3 separate regions of the Homo sapiens genome follow, and all the other regions are linked to region 2. Evidence: promoter capture Hi-C in 16 types of primary human blood cells and fetal thymus (Javierre and others, 2016). All regions are on one chromosome and are shown on one strand. Each heading gives the region's core, a stretch centred on a gene start or on the middle of the fragment in contact. The rest is flanking DNA. Distances are from core to core; before and after follow the strand shown. Region 1 overlaps NAP1L4 (nucleosome assembly protein 1 like 4). Region 2 holds the start of CARS1 (cysteinyl-tRNA synthetase 1). Region 3 overlaps NAP1L4 (nucleosome assembly protein 1 like 4).

The links. The method cuts DNA at HindIII sites, captures the fragments that hold promoters and counts their contacts. A CHiCAGO score of 5 or more calls a contact.
Region 1: a contact is called between a fragment that was not itself captured here and the fragment with the promoter of CARS1 in region 2, in 1 of 17 cell types (total CD8 T cells). The highest score is 5.9, in total CD8 T cells.
Region 3: a fragment that was not itself captured here is called in contact with the fragment with the promoter of CARS1 in region 2 in 2 of 17 cell types (naive CD8 T cells and naive CD4 T cells); the score reaches 5.7 in naive CD8 T cells.

Annotation. Positions count from the first base shown.
Region 1 is chr11:2,950,750-2,953,505 of GRCh38, forward strand. NAP1L4 (nucleosome assembly protein 1 like 4) reads right to left here. Exons shown (of 16, transcript NM_005969.4): 13 at 1,031-1,060; 14 at 510-566. Among named protein-coding and RNA genes, the nearest start is that of SNORA54, 12 kb to the right of the region's middle. The HindIII fragment of the contact is 2,285 bases long and covers 304-2,588 here.
Region 2 is chr11:3,056,010-3,058,709 of GRCh38, forward strand. It overlaps CARS1 (cysteinyl-tRNA synthetase 1), which reads right to left and starts at 1,414. Exons shown (of 23, transcript NM_001014437.3): 1 at 1,334-1,414. The coding sequence starts at 1,358. It overlaps LOC124902615 (a long non-coding RNA gene), which reads left to right and starts at 2,615. Exons shown (of 2, transcript XR_007062555.1): 1 at 2,615-2,700. RefSeq lists an enhancer at 1,068-1,600. The HindIII fragment of the contact is 6,695 bases long and covers 1-2,700 here.
Region 3 is chr11:2,977,721-2,980,420 of GRCh38, forward strand. It overlaps NAP1L4 (nucleosome assembly protein 1 like 4), which reads right to left. Exons shown (of 16, transcript NM_005969.4): 2 at 1,487-1,517; 3 at 564-622. The coding sequence starts at 1,500. Among named protein-coding and RNA genes, the nearest start is that of NAP1L4, 13 kb to the right of the region's middle. The HindIII fragment of the contact is 821 bases long and covers 878-1,698 here.

The DNA of each region.
Region 1 (2,756 bases), core at 196-2,695, 110 kb before region 2:
GTAAACCTTTCCAATTTATTTTAAATTATCTGAGACATATGAGATATCTAGACACATCATCTGGGCATGCTCAGCTCAAGTGCAACTGGGTCAAATGATGCCCACAATCCCATTATTCTGTTCCTTAACAAAAAGAGCCCCAAAGTCCCTTCTTTGCACCTTTTCCAAACACGCACAAAGAAAAGTTTATTTATGTTGTCAGTTAAATCATTACCTTACCTTAAAAGAATGAAACACTTGGAAAGTCAAGTTGCTCTACTGAGGAGTCTATGTAAATAAGACACAGCTTGAGACAGCTGGAAAAGCTTCTACTGAGTATGTACACTCAACACTCAAATTATAGACACAGTGTCTGAATAATCATTCCACTATTTTTCTGACACATTTTAAACTTTCTAATTAGGGAATAATGAATATTGTTAACACTACTGCCTCAAAGTGGGGAACATTTTTAAAAGTCTAAGAGTGCAGCATAATAAGTAGGTCTGGGTGGCCCCAAAGTTACCAACCTTGGGGTTAATTTCCGCATCATCCTCGTCTTCTCCCTCCTCGTCACCTTCTAATTCCTGTATTTAAAAAGTGAGAATTAGCTGGAATGACAAGATTTAAACTCTTGTGGCATTCACAATCCACAAACACAAGGAGCAAAACACTGCCTTAGATGGAAATCAATTACTGCTACCCACAAGTGACTCATCACTTCCTTTGGACACTTAGAATTATTTCTAGGTATCTTTTTGTTCTCACAGAGAGCCCTGAAAGAAACAAAATTCTGAAAAAGTAGATTTTGTTAAATGATTATTTTCTAAGATACATTTTCATGAACCAACTGCAGGGTCAAAAACGATGGAAACTGTCACAGCATTTGCTATGCATTTCTGCTTAGTGTTTTAAGAACATTCTTAGAATCAAAGACAGCGTCACAAAAAATGGGTTTAACACAGCCCTGTGAGTCCATAACCTTCAAGCAGAGAAAGCCAAAGAAACAACTTCAGGGAGGTAAGTGGCACTGCATAAACCTGTCTCTTACCTCCTCTTCTCCTTCTTCACCTTCTTCAAACTGGAGAAACACAGAAAAACATTTTTAGGTTTACAAAACATGACAGCAGCCTGCCCAAGACACCAGTCCCATCAAGTGACTCACTGACCAAGCCTAAGAGGAGCAGAAAGTCCAGCCACGCTGCCTGCTGGGCCTCGCTTGCCTGAGGAGCCATTTGCTTGTGTGCAGCGCATTTTAAAAGCATGCCAGGAAATTGAAAGTCACGCAAAACAAGGAATAGGATAGGAAGCTGGTCAGCCAGGGTGTACCCTGGACACAGCTGGGAACCTGGCACCACAGCTCTGCCCTGGCTGTTCTCACACCGAGGAGCAGGCACACAGGAAAAGATTTTTGTAAACCGATGAATTTGTTTTCCTTAAATTTTCTACAAGGCTGATCGAACCAGCAGCATAATGTTATTGGATACAGGAATCTGGGTATCATTTTACATCTCATACAAAGGGAAAAGAAACCTTAGTAGAAATATATTAAAACTTTGGTGTTTAATCTTTAAAGTGATCAATAAGGTGCTCAAAGGTGAACCTCCACCATTAGTCAATTGTCTTGAATCAGTTTCTCCTACATCCAAATACATCATTGGTCAGACTAAAAATCAAGTTTCAAACATGAGACTTACACCAAAAGCAAAACCACCTTATCACTACTGGTTGCATAACAAGGGTAGTGCATGAAAATGCAGCTTCATTTATCAACATTTCCCATTTTGTTGAGCTCACACCATGTATTTGCTTAGAGCCAACTTCGGTGGAACTTAGAAGGGCCCTACTGTGCTGGTGTGGAGTTCACACAGTGTGCACAGCCTCCTGGCGCCACGCAGCAGCCAGGATGAGATGTGGCCACGGTGCAGCGCCCTTCCGCTCTAAGGACCCTAACTGGCATCAGGCAGGGAAAGGCTTCTCAATATTCTTCCATTTCACGTCAGATCCAACGAGCCTCCAGCAGGCTCCAGGGCCTATTCCAAGGCTCTAAGGACAGCATTTTGCCCTTAAGGGGCTGTGCACAGGGGCTGCTCCAGATGCATCACCCACCTGGGCAGAGCAGGAGCTGCCACGTGCAGAGAAGACAAGACCAGGGTTCCCACATTCACCTCCTCCTCCAACAACTTTCTAGTGTTGGGGTACGGTCTAGAAAGTAACATTAGTAAAACACTTTATGCCAACACTTACTGAGTCATTGCTCTGTGCCAGGTGCTATGTTAAGGGCTTAACAAGTAACCAGAGTCTTTACCATGAGCTCTACTTACAGCTGAGGAAACTGAAGCTCAAGGAGGTGGTGGAGCTACTAAAGGGAGAATGGGGATGCGAGTCTGAGCAGTCTAATCTGAGCTGGCACTTCTAGCCTCTAACTGACACTGCTCATCAGTAGTACCTGTGCTGAACGTATTGTGAATGAAACGCACATGTACTATAAGCAAATGTGGCACAGTGCTCACCAGCAGTACAGATACCGCATATAAGTAAGCAAATAGCACACATGCATATTCAAGTCCTTTAAACTGACGGGTGTATGATCAAAACAGTTTCAGATAAGCTTTCCAATGTGTAGCCACTAGCCCTTAGCTCACTATTTAAATTTAAACTAAGGTAAATGAAATGTTCAGTTCTTCAGTCTCAGCAGCCATATTTCAAGTCCTCAAGTGGTCAGTCCTACTGCACTGGACCAAGCAGGCAGAGGACAGTTCCATCAACAGAGAAAG
Region 2 (2,700 bases), core at 164-2,663:
CTTGGCTCTGGGACGGGTGGAGATGGTGCTGGAATCCAGGCACACAGGTAGGGTGGTAGGCGGCGTGCCTGGAAGGTGACCACCTCCTGCCACTTGGCACAAGAGTGTAGCCCTGTCATCTGGGTGTCCCCATGCCGCCAGATTACTCGGGTTGTCATAACTACCTATCTATAACCCAATAAACCCTCAGGGGCAAAGGGCACCACCAGATGCTAAGGAAATCTTGGTACGATCTAAACTGAGGGTGGGGGCTGGAGGTGTCTTACAAGAACTTGCATCTAATTTTTGCCAGCCAAAAGAATTAAAAACTAGATACTGAGAATGTTTCCTTTGGAAAGGCTGCTCCAGACTGTTAGGAATCTGGGCTTTCTGATTCAGTCTCTTGCCTTTCCAGCACCTAAAATCTTGCTGGAGGGACAGTGAGAGAAGAACCCACTGGTCTCTCAAGGTCTACCCGCTGGTGACATGAGTGACTGGGGGAGCTGACACAGCTGTGTCCCTGGGGAACCTCCCGGGTTGGCAATAAAATGGGGCAGTAATGCTCTGACAATCAGCTTGCAGTGGACTGCCTGCGGAACTGGAGATGAAAGCCTTCGTAAAGCCCCAAGCCCTTTTACTGTGTGTACGCGTACCCCTGGCGTCCTCTGCCCCATTTCCCTAAATACCAACCTCAGGTGCCCTCCGCCCACCTCCCGGAAGCTGCCAGGTCTGGGCAGAAAACCAAAACAACCCTTGGGCCTTTGTCTCCCCCCTAAAGGCCAGCTGGGGCAAGAGGGAGCGAGGGCCCGCCCAGGCACCGGCTGGGGAAAGGCTGTTTGATGTAGGGCCACCTCCCGGGGTGAGGATGCAAGGGGACCTCGGCAGGAACCAAGTGAGGAAACTGAGGCTGGGTGGTCTGGGCAGCGCCCCGCTCGGGCTCGGGTCCCCGCGGGGTCTGTGCTCCAGCCACGGGTCTGGCAGACCCTCACGCAGGAGTCCCAGGGGTCCCAGTGGCCGTCCCTCGGAGCCGGGCACCCGTTGTCCTTCGGATCCTAGGACGTGCCACCCCTCGAACCTCAGGACCCGCCGTCCCTCAGACCCCGGGCACTGACACCCCTCAGACCCCGAGCACCCCCGCCCCTCGGACCCAAGGACGTGCCGTCCCTCAGACCCCGCGCACTGACACCCCTCAGACCTCGGGCACTGCCGCCCCTCAGACCACGGACACAGCTGCCCCTCAGAACCCATGCACCCGGGCCCCTCAGACATAAGGACTCGCTGCCCTTCGAGCCGAGCACCCAGCGCCCAGTCAGGCCCCCAGCCGCCCTCAGCCTGGCCCGGCCGCGCCGCTCACCCTGCTGCCCGGAGGAATCTGCCATGGCTGGGAATCCCGGACCCGCAGCTGCGGCTACAGACACTTCCTAGAATCTGATGCAACCGCCGCCCCGGAAGTCGCGCCCCACGCCGGGCCCGTCTTCCGGGACACGCCCGGTCGCTAGGCAACTACCAGGGGCTCCGGATGTCGCCGGCCCGGAGCATGCTGGGAGCTGTAGTTCAACCCAATGGCGACCCGCGCTCCGGAGCATCGCGCGGCCAAGCGTTCAGTGGCCGTGCTGGGAGTAGTCAGCCCAGCCGCGGGGAGACAAGCACTAAAGACTGAGCGTCCTGTAATAGGTGTTTAAGTCATGATTGCGCTAAGCGCCGTGGGGACCAGGCCCAGCCTGGAGGTCAGAGGCGGCCTCGGGACAGGGTGTGCTGGCGAGACGGGATGGTTCCCAGGAGGCCGACCTGGAGCAGGGCCTGGGGATGGGCGGGAAGAGCGCTCCAGGCCTAGGGACCGCCCTGCCAATGACCCTGCGGAAAGCAAGCCACTATGAAGTGTTGCGTGAACAGGCTTCTCCATCTCCTTCTCAGACCCCATTCTGGAGCCATCCCCAACCCCCTTAGGGCTCCTGCCTTCTGTGTGCATGATGTCACCTCCCAAGGATATCCCACCCAAGGTTCGTGCACCCATCCAAAATGAGAGGAAATGCTATTTAAGAAACAGAATTTTAATATGTCAAGAAAAATTATTAGCCAGGATTAGTGGCTCATGCCTGTAATCCCAGCACCTTGAAAGGACAAGGCAGGAGGATCATTTGAGTCCAGGAGTTTGAAGCTGCAGTGAGCTACGACTGTGCCACTGCATTCCAGCCTAGGCGACAGAGTGAGACCCTTTCTCAAAAAATAAAAAGTAAAAAATCTTCTAGTTACTTTTTGGAACCTCATGTCTAATTTCATAATAAATTCTAAGGCCGGGCACGGTGGCTCACACCTGTAATCCCAGCACTTTGGGAGGCCGAGGTGGGCGGATTATGAGGGCAAGAGATCGAGACCATCCTGGCCAACATGGTGAAACCCTGTCTCTGCTAAAAATGCAAAAATTAGCTGGACATGGTGGCGCTTGCCTGTAGTCCCAGCTACTCAGGAGGCTGAGGCAGGAGAATCGCTTGAACCAGGGAGGTGGAGGTTGCAATGAGCCGAGATTGCGCCATTGCACTCCAGCCTGGCAACAGAGTGAGACTCCGTCTCAAATAAATAAATAAATAAATAAATAAATAAAATAATAAATAAATAAATTCTAAATTCTACTGGTGGCTGGAAAAAAAAAAGAAGAAAGAGTTTGTTTACATTTCTGCAAAGATCCTGTAGCATGTGCTGTAACTTGCCCAGGATGTGGGA
Region 3 (2,700 bases), core at 38-2,537, 78 kb before region 2:
CTTGCTTTCAAACAGTTTGGAGGGAGTGGGGAGTACAGATATAGTTTTTTTTAATGGTGGAAAAATATCACATCTGTGAATTTATGAACAAAATGACATTCTTAGGATTTGCTTTCCAAAGGAAGGAAAGTAAAGGGTATAGACTTAAAAAAAAAAAAAAAAAATGGCCAGGAGCAGTGGTCTGTGCCTGTAGCCCCAACTACCTGGGAGGCTGCGGCAGGAAACTGCTTGAGCCCAGGAGTCCAAGACCAGCCTGGGTAACACAGCAAGGCTCCATCTCAAAAATAAGAAAAAAGACTGGTCATTTGTTAATCAATACTAAAGCTCACTGATGGTAGCTACAAGAAGGTAGACTGTACTATTACTCTCTTTACTACTGTAGAGTCTGAATTCCTATAATAAATACATCTTTTGTTAATGAGATACTGATTTTTCATTTTAATTACTCTAGCTTTCCTAAAACCACTGCAGTACAGGAATCCTTTACTTGCATTAATAAATGTTTCCAGAGAGAGGAACGTTCCCCATACTGGATGCAAACTCTCCATGTGCAGTGGACTGACCTGTGTTACTTGCATTTTTAGCAGCTTCCACGGAATCTGAAGGAACCCCATCTGAAAAACTAAAACAACAGTATGTTTAAAAAGTATTACTGTAAAGAAAGTTCCAAAGACATAGCACAAATGGACATGTTTCTTATTCAATATATTAAGAGGTATCTGTACAGTGACGTCAGATTTGGGCAGAAGAAAACTACCAATGTGCATGTTATCTCAGAGGCTGTCCTCTCTGCTATAAAAATATTCTACTACGTAACATCCCCTCTCCTCTCCCAAACATAAAGCCCTACAAAGTTCTTATTTCCAACCTTAGCCAAAGCTTCTTAGCTCTCATTTCTACAGCTTCTTTCCTCAAAAAATCTGCTCCCAGCCCTCAAACCAAACCCATCAACCAACGAACATGTTACTGTTTGGTCAGCTGCTCATGTGATCAGAGCAAGGCAGTCTTACCAAGTTAAGACAGTGCCCAAAGTGGCTTTGTAAAATTAGCCACAACAAGTGTAAAATGAGCCATGAAACAGTTTTTAAAGATGCCTGGACACACCTCCCTCACAAAAAATAAACATCAAATAATATACACAACTAAAAGTAACCCTCAATCCACAAAACAAAATCTTCCACTTGATCACTGACAACTACAGACTGTTAGGAGAGTGTCAAAATTACCTAACTTCACCCCAGGGGTGTTAAAGCATGGAGAGCAAAACGATTGCTTTCCATAAAAGATCTGTAGTGTCAATGTCTGAGGCACTGTTCATGTCGGAAGTAATTTCTTTACGTGCTCAAATACATACACAAGAAATGAGCCATCAGCTAGACGCTGAAATGCATTTAACTTTGATTCTAATTATTTATTGAAAAATGGCTTGGCTGTTGCTCACCAACTGAATTTTAAACTCCAATAAACAAAGTCCACTTTGGCTTACCTGTGATCTGCCATCTGAATGTTTTTATCCCCTATAAATTAAAAAGAGTTGTAATAATTATATTCATAAGCAAAAATGTTTGTTCAATATACTTTTTAAACAACGGTTATCTGTGGGATGGAGTCCACTAGAAGGGACAGGAGGGAACTTTCTAGAGTGATGAAAATGTTCTAGATCTTGACTGAGGTTACCTGAGTATATACACTTGTTAAAGCTTATTAAACTATACACTTCAGATCTGTGCATTTCATCACACACAAACTTTACTCATAAAAAAATTTCTCGGCCTGGCGCGGTGGTTCACGCCTGTAATCCAAGCACTTTGGGAGGCCGAGGTGGGTGGGTCACTTGAGCTCAGGAGTTCGAGACCGGCCTGACCAACATGGTGAAACCCCATCTCTACTAAAAATACAAAATTAGCTGAGCGTGGTGGTGCACGCCTGTAATCCCCGCTACTCAGGAGGCTGAGGCAGAAGAATCACTTGAACCCAGGAGGCGGAGGTTGCAGCGAGCGGAGATCATGCCACTGCACTCCAGCCTGGGCAACAAGAGTGAAACTCCATCTAAAAAAAAAAATAAAATAAAATAAAATTATCTTATTGGCACTAAAATAACCAGACTTCAGAATAACATTAATTCTAATTTGCCTTATTTTTTATAATACATTCGGCAACACAAACATACATTAATGATAGCCCAACCATTTTAGAGTAAGTCAAAGCATTTACTGGTGTTTACACTTTCAAATTAACTTATGGGATTATTTTCTAATTGCATTTGTTTATTCCGTATCTTCCATTACTTCTACACTGAGGATGTATTGCTTGTGTAAAAACCTTGTGTAATATACTCAGTATTATTCCACTTTTAAAGATGATTATTTCTATATTGGTAGAATTAGATGACATTGTAACTGAATATTAAGGGTGTGTTCTAGGGCATTTACTTCTTAAATAGAAGAACTTGATATTAATAAAACTAAAAAAAAGTTATCATTTTTTTTGAGACAGGATCTCAGTCACCAAGGCTGCAGTGTAGTGATGCAATCCTGGCTCACTGCAGCCTCAACTTACTGGGCTCAAGCAATCCTCCCATCTCAGCCTCCTGAGTAGCTGGGACAACAGGCGCAGGCCACCATGCCCAGCTAATTTTATTTTTTGTAGAGATAGGGTCTGGCTAAGTTGCCCAGGCTGAGTCCCAAACTCCTGGCCTCA